Linked DNA regions of Homo sapiens: all the other regions are linked to region 1. The links are contacts of gene promoters, found by promoter capture Hi-C in blood cells and fetal thymus (Javierre and others, 2016). All regions are on one chromosome and are shown on one strand. Each heading gives the region's core, a stretch centred on a gene start or on the middle of the fragment in contact. The rest is flanking DNA. Distances are from core to core; before and after follow the strand shown. Region 1 holds the start of TRMT5 (tRNA methyltransferase 5). Region 2 overlaps MNAT1 (MNAT1 component of CDK activating kinase). Region 3 overlaps MNAT1 (MNAT1 component of CDK activating kinase). Region 4 has its middle 54 kb from the start of TMEM30B. Region 5 overlaps MNAT1 (MNAT1 component of CDK activating kinase). Region 6 has its middle 72 kb from the start of TMEM30B. Region 7 has its middle 110 kb from the start of TMEM30B.

Evidence for each region. Contacts are between HindIII fragments. The CHiCAGO score rates a contact against its expected background, and 5 or more counts as called.
Region 2: a fragment that was not itself captured here is called in contact with the fragment with the promoter of TRMT5 in region 1 in 12 of 17 cell types (erythroblasts, total CD8 T cells, naive CD8 T cells and 9 more); the score reaches 10.8 in erythroblasts.
Region 3: a contact is called between a fragment that was not itself captured here and the fragment with the promoter of TRMT5 in region 1, in 1 of 17 cell types (endothelial precursors). The highest score is 5.8, in endothelial precursors.
Region 4: a fragment that was not itself captured here is called in contact with the fragment with the promoter of TRMT5 in region 1 in 1 of 17 cell types (M2 macrophages); the score reaches 6.4 in M2 macrophages.
Region 5: a fragment that was not itself captured here is called in contact with the fragment with the promoter of TRMT5 in region 1 in 1 of 17 cell types (total B cells); the score reaches 5.0 in total B cells.
Region 6: a contact is called between a fragment that was not itself captured here and the fragment with the promoter of TRMT5 in region 1, in 1 of 17 cell types (M2 macrophages). The highest score is 6.6, in M2 macrophages.
Region 7: a contact is called between a fragment that was not itself captured here and the fragment with the promoter of TRMT5 in region 1, in 1 of 17 cell types (endothelial precursors). The highest score is 6.1, in endothelial precursors.

The regions. Positions count from the first base shown.
Region 1 is chr14:60,979,775-60,982,644 of GRCh38, reverse strand. It overlaps TRMT5 (tRNA methyltransferase 5), which reads left to right and starts at 1,566. Exons shown (of 5, transcript NM_020810.3): 1 at 1,566-1,682; 2 at 2,759-2,870. The coding sequence starts at 1,672. It overlaps SLC38A6 (solute carrier family 38 member 6), which reads right to left and starts at 1,400. Exons shown (of 16, transcript NM_153811.3): 1 at 1,263-1,400; 2 at 7-137. The coding sequence starts at 1,367. RefSeq lists an enhancer at 1,297-1,676. The HindIII fragment of the contact is 5,504 bases long and covers 1-2,870 here.
Region 2 is chr14:60,751,762-60,754,461 of GRCh38, reverse strand. The region is part of intron 1 of MNAT1 (MNAT1 component of CDK activating kinase); the gene reads right to left. Among named protein-coding and RNA genes, the nearest start is that of MNAT1, 18 kb to the right of the region's middle. RefSeq lists enhancers at 347-396, 807-1,086. The HindIII fragment of the contact is 1,980 bases long and covers 261-2,240 here.
Region 3 is chr14:60,787,826-60,790,893 of GRCh38, reverse strand. All of the region lies in intron 1 of MNAT1 (MNAT1 component of CDK activating kinase), which reads right to left. Among named protein-coding and RNA genes, the nearest start is that of MNAT1, 55 kb to the right of the region's middle. RefSeq lists an enhancer at 283-812. The HindIII fragment of the contact is 845 bases long and covers 997-1,841 here.
Region 4 is chr14:61,226,240-61,229,288 of GRCh38, reverse strand. It overlaps a transcript of PRKCH not described here. Among named protein-coding and RNA genes, the nearest start is that of TMEM30B, 54 kb to the left of the region's middle. The HindIII fragment of the contact is 9,935 bases long and covers 1-3,049 here.
Region 5 is chr14:60,846,045-60,848,789 of GRCh38, reverse strand. All of the region lies in intron 6 of MNAT1 (MNAT1 component of CDK activating kinase), which reads right to left. Among named protein-coding and RNA genes, the nearest start is that of MNAT1, 110 kb to the right of the region's middle. The HindIII fragment of the contact is 2,054 bases long and covers 276-2,329 here.
Region 6 is chr14:61,208,276-61,211,082 of GRCh38, reverse strand. It overlaps a transcript of PRKCH not described here. Among named protein-coding and RNA genes, the nearest start is that of TMEM30B, 72 kb to the left of the region's middle. The HindIII fragment of the contact is 9,130 bases long and covers 1-2,807 here.
Region 7 is chr14:61,174,038-61,176,871 of GRCh38, reverse strand. No RefSeq gene overlaps it. Among named protein-coding and RNA genes, the nearest start is that of TMEM30B, 110 kb to the left of the region's middle. RefSeq lists an enhancer at 2,079-2,580. The HindIII fragment of the contact is 1,923 bases long and covers 534-2,456 here.

The DNA.
Region 1 (2,870 bases), core at 317-2,816:
ACTCACCTAAATCCAAAGACACCGGTATTAGCCAAAACATAAGCTAAGCCAAGGATGCCACTTCCCATGATGGCATTCATCAAATTAAACACTGATAAACCAAATGAAACACCTGGGGATCGCTGTCTGTGAAGTTCCTGTAAGCACACAAATTTAGTAGTGTTAAATGTTTGGACGGTGAAGTTAAAATTTCGTAAAGAAATTCCATAAATGAAAGATTATGGAAAAAAGCTGCAAACCACCAGGGTTTGTATGACACACTCGTTGCTTAACCAACACTAATTTCCTTTCCTTTCCTTCCCACCTCCCACTACTGCAGCTCCAGGAATCTAGGGTTTCTTAGGAAAATGATTTCCACCAGTACACAAGACAGGCAGAGTTCAGGAAGGGCCATGACTAACCTTGTGACTGCAAGAGATGAAGATAGGATGGGAATGGAGTGGGGAGAGAGAGGAGGGATAAGGCCTCAGCTCATGTGATTACTAAAGAATTGCTGAGTCAACCTGGGACTGCTGTGGGCAGTTGTTTCTCCTCAATTACTAGGACTGCACAACTAATCTCTACTTATATATCTAATGAATTAGTTCTACCAAACTGGAAGGATGGTCAGGAATATCTTGCAATGACAATATTATAAACAGAAGCAATTCACGTTGTTCTGGCAGTATCCCTGAAAACATCCCCCTCCCCACAAACAGCACCGGGAACAAAGTCCTGGGAACAGTGTCTAGGACTCGAGTTAAAAAGCGGAGTGCCCACTGCACAGGCTTTAGGGTCAGGAACGTGCTATGCACTTACTACCAAGCCACTTCCATTCTACCGCTAAGAATTTCTGTATTAAAATGTTTATTATTTTCCCTCCCCCCATGACTAAGTCGGAAGAGGAAAATCCTGTGACTCTTGCAAAGACCTCACGAGACTGGTGGAGAAAATAAGGTGACAAAAATACTAACTAACAGCAGTGAGTACATAATCCTAGGGCCGCTCATCCCATCATGTTCGCAGCTTCCACTCAACGCTGCATCTCTTCCACCCGACGCTTTTCATCTTTTCTTTCTAGAGTATGCTAGGCTGCTATCACGTTCATAACTGCGCCAATCTCATCTGAATCTCGGCGGCTGCCTTCAGACCCCATCCCCCAGGGTTCAGGCTCCAGCATCTCCCCTGTCCCGGTGCGGTCCTCCTTTTCTGGGTCTTATTTGGCAGGCACTTGAGGGAAGCCGGAGGGCGTCAGCGCGGGGAAGCGAACACAGCCCACTTACGTTGCTTAGCAACGGACTCAACTCTTCGGCCTCCGCTTCTTCAGGCTGCTGGACAGAGACATACCAGCCCCGCTCAGCGTTGAAGCTCCCCCAGGACGCCTCCATGCTGCTCTCCAGCTGACTACCAGTTCCATCTACGAGCCTCTACCCCTGCCCTGCGCTCCAGTCGTCGGTCGCGCCAGAGGCGGAGCTTTGAGCCCGGCCCTTCCGGCATTCCGTACTTCACCAGGGCCTGGAAGGAGAGGAGCGAGTCGACTTGATCTGATGACGCGCGCCCTCTTCGCGGCGAACAGTGATGATGTCATAGAAGACCCGCCCATCCACCCGCGACCCACATCCGATCGGTACCGGAGCGGGAGGTGAGGGGTCGGCTCGCGGATCCAGCTGCAGAGCGACGTGGGGAATTGGAATGGTGCTTTGGTGAGGTGGCGGCCGCGTTAGGGGCTAATGGTCCAGGGGAGGTACCAGCCCGCCCAGGGCTGCTCTCTGCCATGTGCTGCCTGGGCACAGAAACATCGCGAGGTCACCCACCCGCCTAGGTGCTGAGCTTAGTTTCGAGGTTCTGGATAGTAAGGAATGTTTCAAAAGCCTTTCGCCACATTTTACTGGTGGGAAAACCGAGACTTATAGTAATTTATCCAGGGTCACCCAGCTGGTCAGCTGCTAGAACCAATTTGATCTCTGACGGTGAAGTTAGACTTCGTTGCTTTACAGGATTCTGGGACAGGGCCCTTTCCCCTTACAAGTAAATTCTTTGGTATTTTAGAAGACAGTGAATAACTGATACTATGCATATAACAATCAGCAAAGCTCTCGTCCTCAAAATACAGAAGCCTCTAGTTAAAGGCAGGACATGTGGCAGTAAAGCATCGAAAACAAACAACAGAGCAATATATTAAGAACACAAGCACCGAAGTCAGTCAAAACTAGGTTTTAATCCATGTTTAGCCACTTATCAGCTGGGAGACTTTGGGTGGGTTACCTTACGTCTGAGCTTTAGTTTACTTATTTACAAAATGAGGGTGCAATACTGCACACCTCCCAAGATTCATAATGTACATAAAGCATTTAGCGCAGTATCTGACACAATAAGCACCCATGAGACTATCCTAATAAATATCACCACTAGTAATGGTCATGTATAATGACTATTTCATTTACAGATGACCATTTAACTCATACTTCAGTCTTCCAATCCCAAATGTATTATCTAGAAAATTGTGGGTGAAGAGGATCATTGAGTATGGCTAATGGATCACTAAGCCCTCTGAACTGGGAGCAGATGGGTTGAAGGTGTAAATTTAATATATACCACTATTATCTACCACTAATACGACTTCCTGAAGAAGTCATCCTAGTCTGGAAAAGATAGTATACTTCCCACACATCACTAAACGTTTTATTTGTCAGCATTTAGCCCGTTATTTGAGATAGTAGAATTTAGATTTTTATTCTCAAAAGCTGTCGTGTGTGAATTTTTTTTTTTTTTTTTTAAGGATCTTATGGAGGCCATTTGGATTCTCAGGAAGATTTCTGAAACTGGAAAGCCATAGCATAACTGAATCAAAATCGTTGATTCCAGTAGCTTGGACATCCCTGACACAGATG
Region 2 (2,700 bases), core at 1-2,500, 230 kb after region 1:
ACAGCAGAATCGCTTGAACCTGGGAGGCGGAGGTTGCAGTGAGCCAAGATCGTGCCACTGCACTCCAACTCCAGCTTGGGCGACAGAGCGAGACTCGGTCTCAAAAAAAAAAAAAAAAAAGAAGAAATTTCTCCCTATTATTAAAAAAAAAATAAAATCCCTAATATGTGTACAGCTTTTGGCAATGTGCCTTTTGTTTTAATAAAGATGAAGGGATTCTATTAGTTATCTGTTGCTGCATAACAAAACACCACCAAGCTTGACAGCTTAAAACAATAAACAATTTATTATCTCACAAAATTTCTCAGTGTCAGGAATCCAGGAGCAGCTTATTTGTCAAGATATCAGCTGGGGCTGCAGTCATCTGAAGACAGGACTGGGACTGAAGACTAAGATGGCTCACTGACTTGGCGGTTAGTAGAAGGTCTCAGTTCTTAACCACACGGAACTTCATAAGGCTGCTGACGACACATAAACTGTCTTTCATGACAGCAAGTTGCCCAAGAACATAGAGAGTAACCACATGGAAAGCCACAAAGTCTTTGTTAAAGACCTAGCCTTGGAAATGAGAAACTTCTACCATATTCGATTGGTTATACAAGCAACCCTGATACAATCAGGGAGAAACTAAGCAAGGACATAAAAAGTAGGAGACAAAAATCACTGGGAGCCCTCTTGGATTCAAGGTATTCCAGTGATAAATATACATATGTGGTTGGTGTGGTTTTACATATGGCCACAAATTCTTTATACTTCTTTCATCAAAAGGGGAAGCCCAATTCCCCTTCCTCTGAATGTGAGCTGTATTTAGGACTCTGAACAAACAGAATGCAGCAGAAACGATGGTGTCTGAATGATGTTCATAGAAGACATCGTGGCTTCTGTTTGTCTCTCTCTTGAATCATCCACCTGAGGAGAAGAAAGCTACTATGTTGTGCGAACACTGAAGAAATCCTTAGGAGAGGCCCATGTGACAAAGAACTGACACCTCTAGCCAAAAAATAACAGTAAAGAACTGAGGACTCCTGACAAAAACCACATGAGTGAGCTTAATACAGTCAGCCCTCCATATACATGGGGTTTTGCATACTGTGAATACTGTATTTTCAATTCTTATTTGTTTTGTTTTTTGAAATCCACATATAAGTGGACACACACTTCAAACTCATGTTGTTTAATGGTCAACTGTTTATCCTCCAACTCCAGTCAAGCCTTCAAATGAATAGAGCCCCAGCTGAAACTTGATTGCAATCTCATGAGACACCCTGAGCCAAAACTACCCAGCTCAGCCATGCCCAAATTCCTGATGCACAAGAACCGTGAGAAAATAAATGTTTGTTATTTTAAGCCATTTAGTTTTAGGATAATTTGTTAGACAGCAATAAATAACTAGTGCAAGCCAGGTGCGGTGGCTCACGCCTGTAATCCCAGCACTCTGGGAGGCCAAGGTGGGTGGGTCACCTGAGGTCAGGAGTTCAAGACTAGCCTGGCCAACATGGCAAAACCCTGTCTCTACTAAAAATACAAAAATTAGTCGGGCATGGTGGTGCGTACCTGTAATCCCAGCTACTCGGGAAGCTGAGGCAGGAGAACTGCTCCAACCCAGGAGGCAGAGGTTGCAGTGAGCCAAGATCACACCACTGCACTCTAGCCTGGGCAACAGAGTGAGACTCCATCTCAAAAAATAATAATAATAAGTAGTACAATGGTAGAGTAATATGAAATTTCTTACAAAATTAGTTACTGAGTCAAAACTTAAAACAGCATTCTCCAAAGTGTTTTTTGTTTGTTTGCTTTGAGACAGAGCCTCACTCTGTCACCCAGGCTGGAATATAGTGGCACACTCATAGCTCACTGCAGCCTTGACCCCCTGGGCTCAAGCAATCCTCCTACCCCAGCCTCCAGAGCAGCTGAGACTACACAGCACACACACATACAAATAAGAAGATAAAAATTAAAAGAACTCCTCTGTGAAAGTATTATGTATAATTTTTTTCTTTTGTCAAAACATTTTTTAATATTATCTTGTGGCATTTTTTCAATAAAACATAATAGACATGCTTAAAATAAATCTATTTTAAAATACATTTTTTAAAAAATGCAAATATTAAAAACTATATTCCTAATCCCAAAGAATATAGAAATAGATCCTTAACTGGTCCTCACTTATGCTCCAATAGATCTCAAAAATACAGCATCTGGCATGTCATACTTCATAAATCCCATCACTTTTGAAAGCTTTTTTGTCCCATATCTTCTATTCCAAATCCATTCTAGATCAGTAGCAAGAAATAAGATCAAATAAAACAACATATTTTGGTAACATTATCTGAAACAGTACCAAAATATGATGATTTTTTTAGAAACATGTCAGTTAACACCAGGAAGTAAACACAGTAGAACTATTTATAAAGAAATTATATCTAATATTGGTAAATTTCAAGATATTTATATTTTAATGAGCTGAATTGTTTATAAGTAAACCAGTTAGTGCTAGATGCAGTTTGCTTCAGTTACCTGAAATTAGAACAGCAAGTTCATTAAATATATATAAATCAGTGGTGCAGAGGCACTGCACCATATTGATGGAGGCTTCATTGATTTTCAATGATATAACCACTATCATATTTGTGTTCTAAAAAAACTGAGTGAGGTATACAATCACTTGTCCTCATCTCAAAATTCTTTTTTTTTTTACAT
Region 3 (3,068 bases), core at 170-2,669, 190 kb after region 1:
TTGGAAATATATGAAGGAACATAGAAAGAAAATAACATTAATTAGGGCTTTTGCGATATGATGTAGATATTATTTTCCTTACTACATAGATGAGGGCACTAAGCATGGAGAAGTCAAATAACTGGCTTAAAATCATATAACTAGTAAGAATTCACCATTACCCTGTGAATCCCATATTTCTGAGACAGGACTCAGTCAATTTAGGAAGTTTATTTTGCCAAAGTTAAGGACACACCCTCAGGAGGTCCTGATGACATGTTCCCAAAGTGGTCGAGTACAGCTTGCTTTTATACATTTTATATTGATAATCATGACATACATTTTATATTAATAATCAATATGTGTAAGATGTACATCGGTTTGGTCCAGTAAGGTGGGACAAGTCGAAGTGGGGGCTTCCAGGTTAGAAGTAGATGAGAGACAAAAGGTTGGATTATTTTGAGTCCTTGATCAGCCTTCCACTGAATACACAATTTAGTCTGGCTCAGTGAATCTGCATTTTTACATAAACAATAGGGCAGAGGAAGCAATCAGAGATTCATTTGTCTCAGATGAGCCTCAGAGGAATGACTTTCAATAGAATGGGAGGCAGGTTTGCACTAAGCAGTTCCCAGCTTGACTTTTCCCTTTAGCTTAGTGATTTTGGGGGTCCCAAGATTTATTTCCCTTTTACAGTCCTCTTCATACTCTACACTTTCTCCTTCTATCTTATTCTTACAATTTTTACAATGACCTATGAAAATAATCATCCTAAGTATCTATTTCTAGCCTAAAAATCTCTCCTAAATTCCTATTACACACTGCCCATTGCACAATTACTCTTTGATATCCCACAAGTTACCTCAAACTCAACATACTCAAAACCAATATTCTTCTGTCTGTGTCAGATACACCAACTTTGTGCATAAACATTCATATACTATGGTGAAAATAGAAAAAAAAAGAAAGAAAAAGTAACTCTATTACAAAAGCATACTTTGAATACTATCGTAAGCTTTCAGCCAATGAGCAACAGCTCAACAAATTATACTACATACTCCTAGCCAGCATGTGTTAATAACACATCATATTCCAAATGCTCTAAGCCAAGAACATTTTCTGAAATATGTGGACTATTCTGTAGCCATTCTTTCTGCCACTGATGAACAGTTTCATCCTGATAGCTAAAAAGGGTGTGCATGTGATAGTGCTGGATGTTAAGATTTAAGACATTAGAGGCTCAAAGCCCCTTCAGGGATATGGTTGAGGAAACAAGGTAAAAGCTAGAAATTGGAGGGAAAAGTCTGTCTAACTTTATGAAGGGCTTCAGAAATAATACTGCAGACTGGGAGAACTGACAATTACAGGCATGCCTCATTTTATTGCGAATTGCCTTATTGGGCTTTGCAGATATTTCATTTTTTACAAATTCAAGATTTGTGGCAACGCTGCCATGGAATGAGTCTATCGGCACCATTTTTCCAACAGCATATGCTTACTTCACGTCTCTGTTTCACATTTTGGTAATTCTCACAATATTTCAAACATTTTCATTATCGTTATATCTGACATGGTGTTATGTGATCAGTGATCTTTGGTGTTACCATTTTAATTGTTTCAGGGCACCATGAAAAGCACCCATATAAGACAGCAAACTTAATAAATGTTGTATGTACTCCAACTGCTTCACCAACTGACTGTTCCTCCAACTCTCTCCCTCTTCTCAGACCTCCCATTCCTTGAGACACAACAATATTTAAATTAGGCCAATTAATAACCCTACAATGGACTCTTAGGTGTTCAGGTGAAAAAAACAATCACAGGTTTCTCACTTTAAATCAAAAGACAGAAATGACCAAGCTTCCTGAGGAGGGTGTATCATAAGCTGAGATAGCCCAAAAGCTAGGCCAACTGCACCAGTTAGCCAAGTCATGAATGCAAAGGAAAAGTCCTCGAAGGAAATTAAAAGCACTGCGCCAATGACACACAATGTTAAGAAAGCAAAACAGTCTTATCATTTATACAGAGAAAGTTTCAGTGGTCTGGATAAAAGATCAAACCAGCCACAACATTCCCTTAAACCAAAACCTAATCCAGATCCTAATACCTAACTCTCTTCAATCCTATAAAGGTTGAGAAAGGTGAGGAAGTTGCAGAAGAAAAGTCTGAAGCTAGCAGAGGTTGGTTCATGAAATTCAAGGAAAGATGCTGTTTCCATAACATAAAAGTGCAAGGTGAAGCAGCAAGTGCTGATATGGAGGCTTCAGCAAGTTATCCATAATATCTATCTAAGATAATGATGAAGGTGGCTACACTGAAAAACAGACTTTTCAATGCAGATGAAACATCCTTCTATTGGAAGATGCCGTCTAGGACTTCCATAGCTACAGAGGAGAAGCCAATGCCTGGTTTCAAAGCTTCAAAGGCAAGGGTGTCTTTTCAGGAGATAGTGCAGCTGATGACTAAATTGAAACCAATGTTCATTTGTCATTTTGAAAAATCATAAAGCCCTTAAATATTATGCTAAATCTATACTGCCTGTGCTCTATAAATGGAAGAATAAAGCCTGAATGATGGCGCATCTATTTACAGCATGGTTTGCTTAATATTTGAACCCACTGTTGAGACCTATTGCTCGGAAAAAAAGATTCCTTCCAAAATGTTACTGCCCATTGACAATGAATCTGGTCACCTAAGACCTCTGATGGATATGTGCAAGGACATGAATGTTGTTTTCATGCCTGCTAACACAACATCCATTCAAAAGCCCATGGGTCAAGGAGTAATTCTGACATTGAAGTCTTGTTATTTAAGTAATACATGTCATAATGCTGTAGCTGCTACAGACAATGATTCCTCTGATAGATCTGGGCAAAGCAAATTCAAAACCTTTTTGAAAGGATTCACCATTCTAGATGCCATTAAGAACATGTGTGATTCATGTGAAAAGATAAAAAATATTAACATTAAAAGGCATTTGGAAGAAGTTGATTCCAATCCTCACAGATGACTTTCAGGGTCTGACTTCAGTGGAGAAAATAACTGCAGATATGGCAGAAACAGCGAGAGAACTAGAATTAGAAGTGGAG
Region 4 (3,049 bases), core at 298-2,797, 250 kb before region 1:
CCCACCAACCCTCAATGAATCTTAAACACTGCCTTGTATATCAATACTATGAAAAACTTCTCTAAAGAAGGTGTTTAGTGGCTGCTTGGCACTCTCACTGTATTCTATTTAACACATCCCCTATTTTGGAGTATTTAGATTATTTCCATTTGGGGAGTTATTATAAATTATACTATGAGAATGTTCTCTTATCTAAATATTTATGCTACTGTCCCCATAGTATAAATTCCTACCAGTGGAATTTCTGGGTTGAGGATATGCCTATTTTGATGGCTTGTTGTTACATACTGTAAAATTGCTTTCCAGAAAGGTGAAATGTATTACATTCCCACCAGCCACTGCCCCAATACTCTAATTAAAGTCATTTATAATTTTATTTATATATTTTTTATATTAAAAAAAATTTTTTTTAAAGGGAGAGGATCTCACTATGTTGCCCCGGCTGGTCTTGAACTACTGGGCCCAAGCAATCCTCCTGCTTTGGCCTCCCAAAGTGCTAGGATTAGCGGCATGAGCCACGGTACCTGACACATTTTGTAACTTTAGAAAAATGACTAAAAAGGAAAGAAAAACTCTTTCCCGAACTGCTTTCCTTAGGAAAGCAAAATACATATAGAAAAGGTTTGATGAACTCTTATTCATCTATCCTTTCATTTGTTACTAGAAAAAAAATCTTGGGAGGCTAAAATACAACTGTGAGCTGCTATCAGACTGGTATGATAGATTCATCTTCTATCCAATATTGCAAGTCCTCAAGATGTGCTTCCTTTTTCTGTTTCCCTTTGTTCTGTGGACACCAAGTACAAACTCTGATCGCCAATCCTCCAAGGATTGAGAAGAGGTGGCTTCTATTGACACAGCAGAAGGGAACTTGCTATGAGGAGGGAGGAGGGCTCAGGTTCCGTGCTGTCAGCAAAAAGCTCCTATAAACAGAGCGCAACACATTAAGCCCTTGTTGTTAATATGCTGTCTAGACTTTAAAAATTGCTTTTCTCTCTGTCTTCTACACTTCAACTTTCGACCTTGTTTCTGTCCTTGTATTTGTAAAAATGACTGGACTCAAGCATTTCTTCTCTCCTCGGGATTCAATGGCCAAGTTACTTTTCACCCAAGCTACTATAGTGACCCAGGGTGGACATGATCCTAGCCTCTTCTCTACTGTATAATGAATGAAAAACTTGACAACATTTGACCCATGACTCAGAAAATGCAAGAGTCCTCCTTCCTTTGGGACAATGTAAATGGATACTCCCTGCAGAAATTGGAGCAGACAATCCCTTTGTTTATTACTGATGGAAACCTGGAAGGTATTTAGGGAGGGTTAAGAAAAGTTTGTGGTGCCACACTTAGGGTAGAAGCAAATTGCTAGCAAAACGATTATGAGCCTTTGTTTTCAAATATATTTTACTCAGGAATGTTTCTCTACCCTCTGCACATGATTAAAATCCCCAGGGCCCTCATGCTAACATCTGGCTGCTCAGGTCTCTCTTCAAGACGGCATATTTATCAAGCACTTACTATTAGGTTGCTGCAAAAATAATCACGGTTTTTGCCATTTAAAAGTAATGGCAAAAACCGCGATTACTTTTGCACCAACCTAATATATGCCAGGCATTCCTATGCATGGACATAAAAATGTTCGCATTTAACCCTCACAACTGCAATCTTTATTTATTTATTTATTTATCTATTTTTTGAGACAGAGTCTCGCTCTTTTGCCCAGGCTGGAGTGCAGTGGCGCATCTCTGCTCACTACAAGCTCTGCCTCCCAGGTTCAGGCCATTCTCCTGCCTCAGCCTCCCGAGTCGCTGGGACTACGGGCGCTCGCCACCACGCCTGGCTAATTTTTTATATTTTTTAGTAGAGACGGGGTTTCACCGTGTTAGCCAGGATGGTCCCGATCTCCTGACCTCGTGATCCCCTGCCTTGGCCTCCCAAAGGGCTGGGATTACAGGCGTGAGCCACCGCGCCCAGCCACAACAGCAATCTTATGAGGCAGGTACTCTTATTATTGTCATTCCTGTTGTACCAATGCAGGAAAAACAGTTAAGAAACTTCTTGGAGATGACAGAGTGAGTAAGCGAGGAAAGCAGTCTGACTTTGAGAACCACATGATTAACTGCTGTTCTATACTGCCAATTTATTTAGATTCTTTTGTTCTAGGTTCTTCTTCTCTGCCACCAAAAATCAATAAATCACTTGTCCTCTTATTCTCTCCGGGCCTTGCAAAGTGGCTAAGTTAATCTGATAAACAAATTTAGGTGGTTAATGGCGACAATGGACCAAGGCATTGCCCATCTCAGTAGATGTATTGTACACCAGGACTTTCACTGTGAAAAGCCTAGGAGTGGCAGCCAAGGAGATCTGAGAGAGATTTGGTAGTGGGAAGGGAAGGCAAGGAATGATGGTGGTAATGGGAAGTGGAAGGGGGTGGTGGGTAGAATATTTTTGGGTGGGGGAGCCTATTCTATCATCAGCCAGTGGTTCACTCAGCACATAGGACAAGACAAGCCCTGGATATAATAATATTTAGGCCTTTGTTAGGAACGACTGAATGCTCAAATGTTTGCCTTCATGATTAAGAGAACCCAGAATCTTTAGAGAACGACCATTGTCTCCCAACCACTGCCAAATACAATGCTTTGTGGAAACCACATAATTCCATGGTCTATCCACAACATCCAGTTTTCTGCCACATTTTTGTGATTAAGGAAACCAAAAGGAGCAGGACACAGTTGCCCCACATAAATCTATCTGTCACCCTCGCCTGGTATAAGCCAATTGAAATATCACAAACCCACATCAAGTTGTCACATTCTTTTAATGTAATCGACCCACAACATCCCACACATACTTTCCTCTCTTGACTTTCTCTGGGGCCAGGGTAGTTTGTGTTAGAGAAATGATGACTTGCTGGAAGGTGTGGCCAAGGAATAATATAATCGTTGGCTTGAAGATGTATATTTTGGTCCTGGATAAATGTATTTAAAAGATTTTAATGAGTCATGAAGGTAGTGCTGACACTTAGAACAATATTTTTCATGCTCTT
Region 5 (2,745 bases), core at 53-2,552, 130 kb after region 1:
GATTATATAGTCCTCCAGAAAAGTCAATACTTTAATTATTATAAGCCTTATTTTTATATGTGTTTTTATGTGACATATATAGAGTAAATACATCTATAGGGGATATGTTTATGAAATCCCATGAAGCAAGAAAAAAATCTGAAAGCAACAGTACATAACGCCACAACATGAAGTAAAACAAAAAAATTAACACGGTATCACCATTTCTTATAACAAAGATGCTTAAGTAGTCATTCCTCAGAGAGGTATTATTGAATTACATGGCAATAAAAGCTTGAGGAAAATTATATAAAACTTGAGGGAATCATATAAAAATAAATTCAGGCTGTAACTATTTTTAAAACACAATGAAAATCTAAACTACCAGTTCATGCTAAAGCCCAAAAAGGGTGACAAAATTAGTAAAGTTAAAGCCCTGCTGGGCCCTAAAAATACAGAAAGATGAACACAAAGAGAAAATCTTAAAAGCAGCAAAAGAGAAAATACTTATCACACACAATGGACCCTCAATGAGACTAACAGCTGACTTAGCATCAGAAACCATAGAAGTCAGAAGGTAGTGGAACGATATATTCAAACGGCTAAAAGAAAAACACTAAACCAAGAATTCTTTATCCAAATAAACTACCCTACAAAACTGAGGCAGAATAAAGACATTCCCAGGTAAAGACTGAGGAATCTGTAAAAATAGTAAAGATGTCCTGCAGGCTAAAAGGAAATGATACCAAGCAGTAACTCAAATTCTCACAAAGAAATGAAGAATACTCAAGAGGTAATTACATAGACAAATCTAAAAGACTGAATAAAAACTTTTCTCTCTTTATTCCTCTTAACAAATTTACAAAACAGCTACAAAAAAAAACCTGTAAAACTGTATGGTTAATCTTACAGCATATAAAATATAATACATATGACAATGGCACTCTCCAGGAGAGGAAAAGGAATGAAGCTATACAGAATTAAATATTCTACATATTACTAACACTGAATTAGTATTAATATGAAGTCAATTGTAATAAGTCAATATGCATATTGTAACCCTAGGTCAACCAATATAAAAACACTTAAAAATATGCATAGTAAAAAGAAAATAATTTAAATGTGCACAAGAAAATATCTATTTAACACAAAAAAGAGCAATAAATGAGGAAGAGAAGAACAAAAAGCACCATGAGAAATATACAAAACAAACATTAAACGTAAATAGCTTGAACACTATAAAAACAAAGACTATCCAAATGAAAAACATCCAGCACACATTAGAATCAAAGATATAAAATAGGTTGAAAGCAAAAGTGTGAAACAAGATAAACAATGTAAACAATAACCATAAGAGAGCTGAAGTAGCTGTACTAAAATAAAACAAGTCTTTTTTTTTTTTTTTTTGAGACGTTGTCTCACTCTTTCACCCAGGCCAGACTGCAGTGGTGCGATCTTGGCTCACTGCAACCTCCGCCTCCTGGGTTCATGCCATTCTCCTGCCTCAGCCTCCTGAGTAGCTGGAACTACAGGTGCCCGCCAACACACCCAGCTAATTTTTTGTATTTTTAGTAGAGACGGGGTTTCACCGTGTTAGCCAGGATGGTCTCGATCTCCTGTCCTCATGATCCGCCCGCCTCGGCCTCCCAAAGTGCTGGGGATTACAGGTGTGAGCCACCGTGCCCGGCAAATAAAACAAGTCTTTAAGACAAAAACTGTTACTAGAGACAAAAGCATTTCATAATGATAAAAGGGTCAATATCATGAAGATATAAAAATTATAAACATACAAAAGGAGTCTCAAAATACATGAAGCAACGCTGGACAGAATTGAGAGAGAAATAAACAATTCAACAATAATAGTCAGAGATTTCAAAACTCCACTCAATAATTGATAGACAAACTAGACAGAAAATCTGTAAGGACACAGAAGACTTCAACATAACCATCAAGCAACATGATGTAACTAACATCTAACACATTCTTCCCAAATATAGAATAAAATTTCAAGTACTTGTGGAACATTCTCCACAATAAAAAATATATTTGGCCATAACATAAGTAACGGTAAATTTTAAAAATTGGGATCATACAAAGCATGCCCTCAAACCAAAGTGGAATTAAATTAGAACAACAACCTCTAAATAATCCATGGTCAAACAAGAAATCACAAGAAAAAATTTAAAAATGTATCCAATTGTATGAATATGAAAATACAACATATTATTGTAGCAAAAGCAGTATGTAGAGGTATTATAGCTTTAAATGCCTATTTTTAGAAAAGAAGAAAGACCTCAAATAAATAACCCAAGTTTCCACCTTAAGAAATTAGGAAAAGAAGAGCAAAGCTTATAAGCAGAAGGACAACCATAAATATTAGAATGGAGATCAATGAAATGGAAATCAAAAAAAATTTTTTAAAAATTCTTAAAACCAAGGTTGATTCTTTGAAAAGATCAACAAGACTGTCACACCGCTAGGTTGATGTGCCAAGGGAAAAAAAAGAGAAGGAACAAAACTACCAAAATAAGAAATAAAAGAGTGAACGTGATCCTGACCCTACAGAAATTCAACTTAGAAGAAACTGACCAATTTCTAGGAATACTCAAAATATCAAGACAAGGAATGAAGGAAAAAGAAAAAGGAATAGGAGAATGGGGAAGGGGAGGCAAGGGGAGGAAAGGAAGAGAGGGAGGGAAAAGAGAGGAAGGAAAAAGAAACGGGGATAGAAAAAGGAAGTGTGAATAGGCTTATTATTAGTAAAGA
Region 6 (2,807 bases), core at 238-2,737, 230 kb before region 1:
GTTTGTCCTCATGGGTTCCAGTTGTCCAGGTGGGCTCCAGTTTGCCTTCCTCCATGTTCAGCTTTCATTCCCAACTGCTGCCCCAACACAAGATGCAGAGACAGCAGCATGGCATTTACTTGGACTTTTGGGTTAACGCTAGATTCCTCCTCTCACTCCCACAATTGCATGTGGTCTAATCCCTATATGCAATGCCTCCTTCCATATCATTCATAGTGCTTCTGCTTCTCTAATTCAACCCAGGCAATATGGAATGCACGCGTGCACGCACACACACACACACACACACACAGAGAGAGAGAGAGAGAGAGAGAGAGAGAGAGAGAGAAAGGACTCTTGGCCTATTTAATGTGATCACTTGGGACCCCTATACATTTATTCCAATGATGTTCACTGACTCATTATGGGACTTGGAAAGTCACTTCATCCCCCTTGACCTCATCTGTAAAATGAGGGCTGGGTCTAAATCAATGTTTTTCATTTTGTCTGGTTATTAAATCACGAAGGTTATCATGATAAGTACAGAATCCCAAAGTCACAGTTCAGACTTACTGAATCAAAATCTTCAGGGGAGTGATCAGCAAATCTTTGTTTTACACCAGGGCCCCAGGTAATTTGTATCATCAGGTAAAGTTGGGGAAAGGCTGATAGATATGGGTGGGTAGTTGGTGCCCAAGAGGGCAAGTGGAAGCTGGAATGCAACATGTGCTTTACTCACCAAGCTGTACGTCCTGGTGTCCAAGAGGCATTTTATTTATTTATTTTTTCTGAGACCGAGTCTAGCTCTGTCACTCAGGCTGGAGTGCAGTGGCACGATCTCGGCTTACTGTAACCTCCGCCTCCCGGGTTCAAGCAGTTCTCCTGCCTCAGCCTCCTGAAAAGCTGGGATTACAGGTGCCTGCCACTATGCCAAGCTAATTTATATATATATATATATATATATATATATATATATATATATATATATATATTTGTTTGTTTGTTTGTTTTGTTTTTTGTTTTTGTTTTAGTAGAGACAGGGTTTCACGGTGTTGGCCAGGCTGGTCTTGAACTCCTGACCTCGTGATCCACCCTCCTCGGCCTCCCAAAGTGCTGGGATTATAAGCGTGAGCCACCACACCTGGCCCTAAGATGCATTTTAAACATTTGCAGTGAACTAACTCAGAAAATCAAATACTGCATGTTCTCATTTATAAGTGGGTGCTAAACAATGGGTGCACATGGACATAAAGATGGAAATAATAGACACCAGGGAGTTCAAAAGGAGGGAGGGAAGCAGGGGGATGATGGCTCAAAAATTACCTGTTGGGTACAATGTTCAACATTTGGGTGATGGGTACGGTAGAAACCCAATCCCCACCATTAAGCTATATACCCATGTAACAAATCCCCTGCATCTAAAAGAAAAAATGAAAAGTTTGCACAAAGGCTTATGGCACCCTGAGTTTGGAAACTGTTGGATCATATGATCACTATGGTCCAGTCTATGTCTGACATTCTGTAATTTGAAGCTGTATAAGGATCCTTTAATGATCCTAAAATGAGGCTTGTCCCTACTCATTGCTTCATGATAGTTACTCTTGGTGGTTGTCTCAGTCAGCTCGGGATGCTATGATAAAATACGATAGACTGGGTGACTTAAAGAACAGACATTTATTTCTTACCGTTCTGGAAGCTGGAATCCAAGATCTTGGTGCCAGTATAGTTGAGTTGCTGATGAGGGCCTTCTTCCTGGGTGGATGAGTAGCTTTTTTTTTTTTTTTTTTTTTTTTAAATAAAGGCACTGTCTTAGTCCATTTTGTATTGTTGTAACAGAATACCACAGGCTGGGTAATTTATAAAGAAAAAAAATTCATTTCTTACAGTTTTTGAGGCTGAGAAGTCCAAGAGCATAGCACCGGTATCTGGCAAGGGCCTTTGGGCTACATCATCCCATGGCGGAAGATGGAAGGGCAAGAGAGCATGAGAGAGCAAGAGGAGGGTTTTATAACAAACCCACTCTCTCAATAGCAAAGCCATTCCCTTGATAATGGCATTAATCCGTTCATGAAGGTGGAGCATGCATGATTTAATCAACTCTTAACGATCCCACCTCTCAACACCGCTGCATTGGGAATTAAGTTTCCAACTTATGAACTTTAGGGGACACATTCAAACCATAGCAGGTACTAATCCCATCTAACGACCTAATTATCCCCCAAAGGCCACAACTACAAATACCATCATATTGGGGTTAGGTCTTCAACAAGTGAATTTTGTAGGGACACAATTCAGATCATAGCAATGGTAATTGAACTTTGTGTATTCTTAATGAACAAAAGGCTGCTATAAAGTCAATAGTGCTTTAAGATTATTGTTTACTTTATCAATCGTTGTTAAAAATATGGGTATATATGTGTGTGAAACCTTATTTAAGCTATAGAAAATGCCTGGTTCGCTTAAAGACGCGCTCTTCAGGACTCTATGATTTTTGGAATCATTGAGAATCTTAAGACTTTCACCTTTAAAATTATATTCAGAACTAGTCAAGGAATTCAATCTCATAACTTGGGGATTATGTCTCACCTTTGATAGAAAATGGTAATATCCAGCTTGGATTCTCACCTCATTTACTCAAACATGTTGCTGAATAATTTTTAGTTGCTTACAAAAAGTTAAGCACACTTTCAAAATTAAACAATTATTACAAAGTCACTGAGAACTGACTGAATGTGAAGACTGTCTTATAATTTTTTTTGTCCCTTATAGTACTTTCCCCAGTGCCACAAATCTGGAAAATGTCAATAAATATTCACTGAATAAAAAAA
Region 7 (2,834 bases), core at 246-2,745, 190 kb before region 1:
CTGGTATTTCCAGACTCATTTCCAAGCTGTGGGACATTCCTCAGAGTCAGTTTTTTCCATCCGTGTAATGGGAATATTAACTTTCCTATCTACCTCCCAGAATTATTAACATGATCAAATGAGAAAATACATGAACAGAGGTACATATACAGTTGGTTATTAACACTTGTTTTTAAAATGTGAATTTATTGTGATTGAATTAAAGTATTGGGGACAATGTGAACATAATTCAAGTTTCTCATAGGCAATTTTATCTGCAAGAGAAAACTAGATTAACATAGAAGATGGCACCCAGCTGAACTGAGTCTTGTCAGGATTCACAAAATGCCACATGCACATATTCCACGCATCTGCCCTACTACCTTGCAGATGTGTTATTCTAACTAATCTACTTATCACAACCAACTGGGTCATCCTACGAGGTTATATTTTCCTATTCTTTCACATTTGTAAAGTGTTGTGTATTAAAAAGAATTCATTCAACATCTCCAACATGTCTAAGCATCACAAGCAGGGCATGGGAAAGAAAAGCTTTGTGTATTGAGGGGGGAAATTGAAGTAAAGCATTTTGAGAGAATCAAGAGAACCTATGCTATCTCCCAAGCAACAGACCATAGAAATAAAAGAAATGTCTGTGGATGGAATAAGTTCAAGTGCTGAGAAATCAATAAGAATAAGGCATGATCCACCCACCTTGGACACCCAAAGTGCTGGGATTATAGGCGAGGTCAAGAGATCGAGACCATCCTGGCCAACATGGTGAAACCCCATCTCTACTAAAAATACAAAAATTAGCTGGGCATGGTGGCAAGTGCCTGTAGTCCCAGCTACTTGGGGAGGCTGAGGCAGGAGAATCGCTTGAACCTGGGAGGCGGAGGTTGCAGTGAGCTGAGATTGCACCACTGCACCCCTCCAGCCTGGTGACAGAGCAAGACTCCGTCTCAAAAAAAAAAAAAAAAAAAAAAAAAAAAAAAAAAAGGCATGAAGACATAGAAGAGATGGAAAGATGAGCATTGTTGAAACCGAAAACTAGGTGGTGAAAAATAAGGGCAACCTCGCTCACAAAGAGAAAGCACTATCTACGTGCAAAAACCTTAATGGAAATTACCACATTCTGCAGAAATGACACCTTTTGTTCTATGAGGGGCTGATTTGGTGATTTCAAATATCACCACAATTTCCAAAGACTTCAGCTATTGAGTGAAGTCCTCAAGTGTGGATGAGAAAACTGCAAAGGAATTTCCAGCAGGGATACAGAAATTAACTAAAGAAGAAAATGCTACATTTTCAAATTTTCAATTTTGATGAAACGGATATCCATTATAAATGCATGCTTCAAATGGCCCACATTTCAGAATTTTAAGGCTGCAAAAAATCAAAAATGTTGGTGATCTTTCTTCTACTACTTCATCCTAACACAAGCAGCAACCCTCTCAGCTCCCTCTTCCATCAGCAAATGGCAGGTATTTTTAAAGATAAAGTGCCATATTTATTGTAGTATTTACATTTTTTTCATTATTTAACATGCACAAAACTGTGCTATCATTTTTATTAAGTTCCTATCTTTTTTATATTACCAACAAAGTGTTTAGGTACTGTGCCCCTGACCCTGTCTTTTCTCTAAGCCTGTGGTTTTTATTGTGCAATTTTGCATAACACAGTGAGTTTTAGGAATGCATGTATCATGTTATAGCAGAACTATCTGGATCTTTTAATTCCCACACATCTCTCCCTCAGCCATGGTTTGGCGACCACAGGCTACAGGTGTGAACCCATAATTCAAATCTGCCACTCCCCTCTGGGCCCCAGGACCAGAACCTCTCAAACTCCTCTTCACCCCTGCAGGCCTTCAGGGCCGAATCAAATTTCTTGACAACTCTACACTGTGCAGCTACTTTTGATGGACCCTCCGGAAATCGCTTGTCCTTTTTCATCTTCAACACCACTGATCTTATCCTTTCTTACTTAAGGCTCCTTGCTAGGCCTTGTATCTCTGTTGTGGTTCCTAGTGTTTTCTTTCCACTGAAGAAGTACCTCCTCCCCTTCCCCTCATCAGATGGTGCTGACTGAGCTGACAGGACTTAATTGAAGCTGGCATTATTTCCGATGAGAGCAGCGATTGAAAACTAGCATAGCTCTTGTGTGACACCGACACACACTCTCAGAAGGAGACTCAGCGGTGTGCTGGAGAGCCGCTGAGCTATTGTTGAGCTGTTCTGGAAGGCTTTGGCTTTCCTGCAGGACCCTAGATCTGTCTCTGCAAAAGCAACCTAAGACCAGCCCTGCATGAGGTAAGAAGAATGGGATGGAAATCAGGCCCATAGCTACCTAGAAAACCACATTTTAACAGCTGCCATTTATGGAACGCTTTTCCTGGGGAATTTCATTATTCTTTCCTGACTACCTAACACATGTCAGAATTTGGAAAGTTAAGGAAATACCCCACTGGGTAAGCTTTAAAATGCGAGTTTCTAGCTCTTCCTGTTTCTAAACTCCAGTAGCTTTGTCTACATAAGAACACCACTGTGTGGTTCAGTAAAGACAACCCTAGAATGAAAGGTGTAAATTATGTCACTCAGTGAAGTAGAAACTTCCAAAATATTTTAGTACTAAAGAGTCTAAAGGTTGAGATCAACAGAATTCTCCTGAAATCTGGCAGACGTCCTTTAACCCTTTAAGTTCAGCTGAAGTGTGTATGGCTTAGGAATGGTTTTTAAGGGGATAACATTGAATTTGATTAGCAATTAGGAGAATTGCACTTGATTCCAAATTCATCTCCTGACATGTTGGCATCTGAATATTTCAGCTCTAAATTACAGACCTCAATAACATAA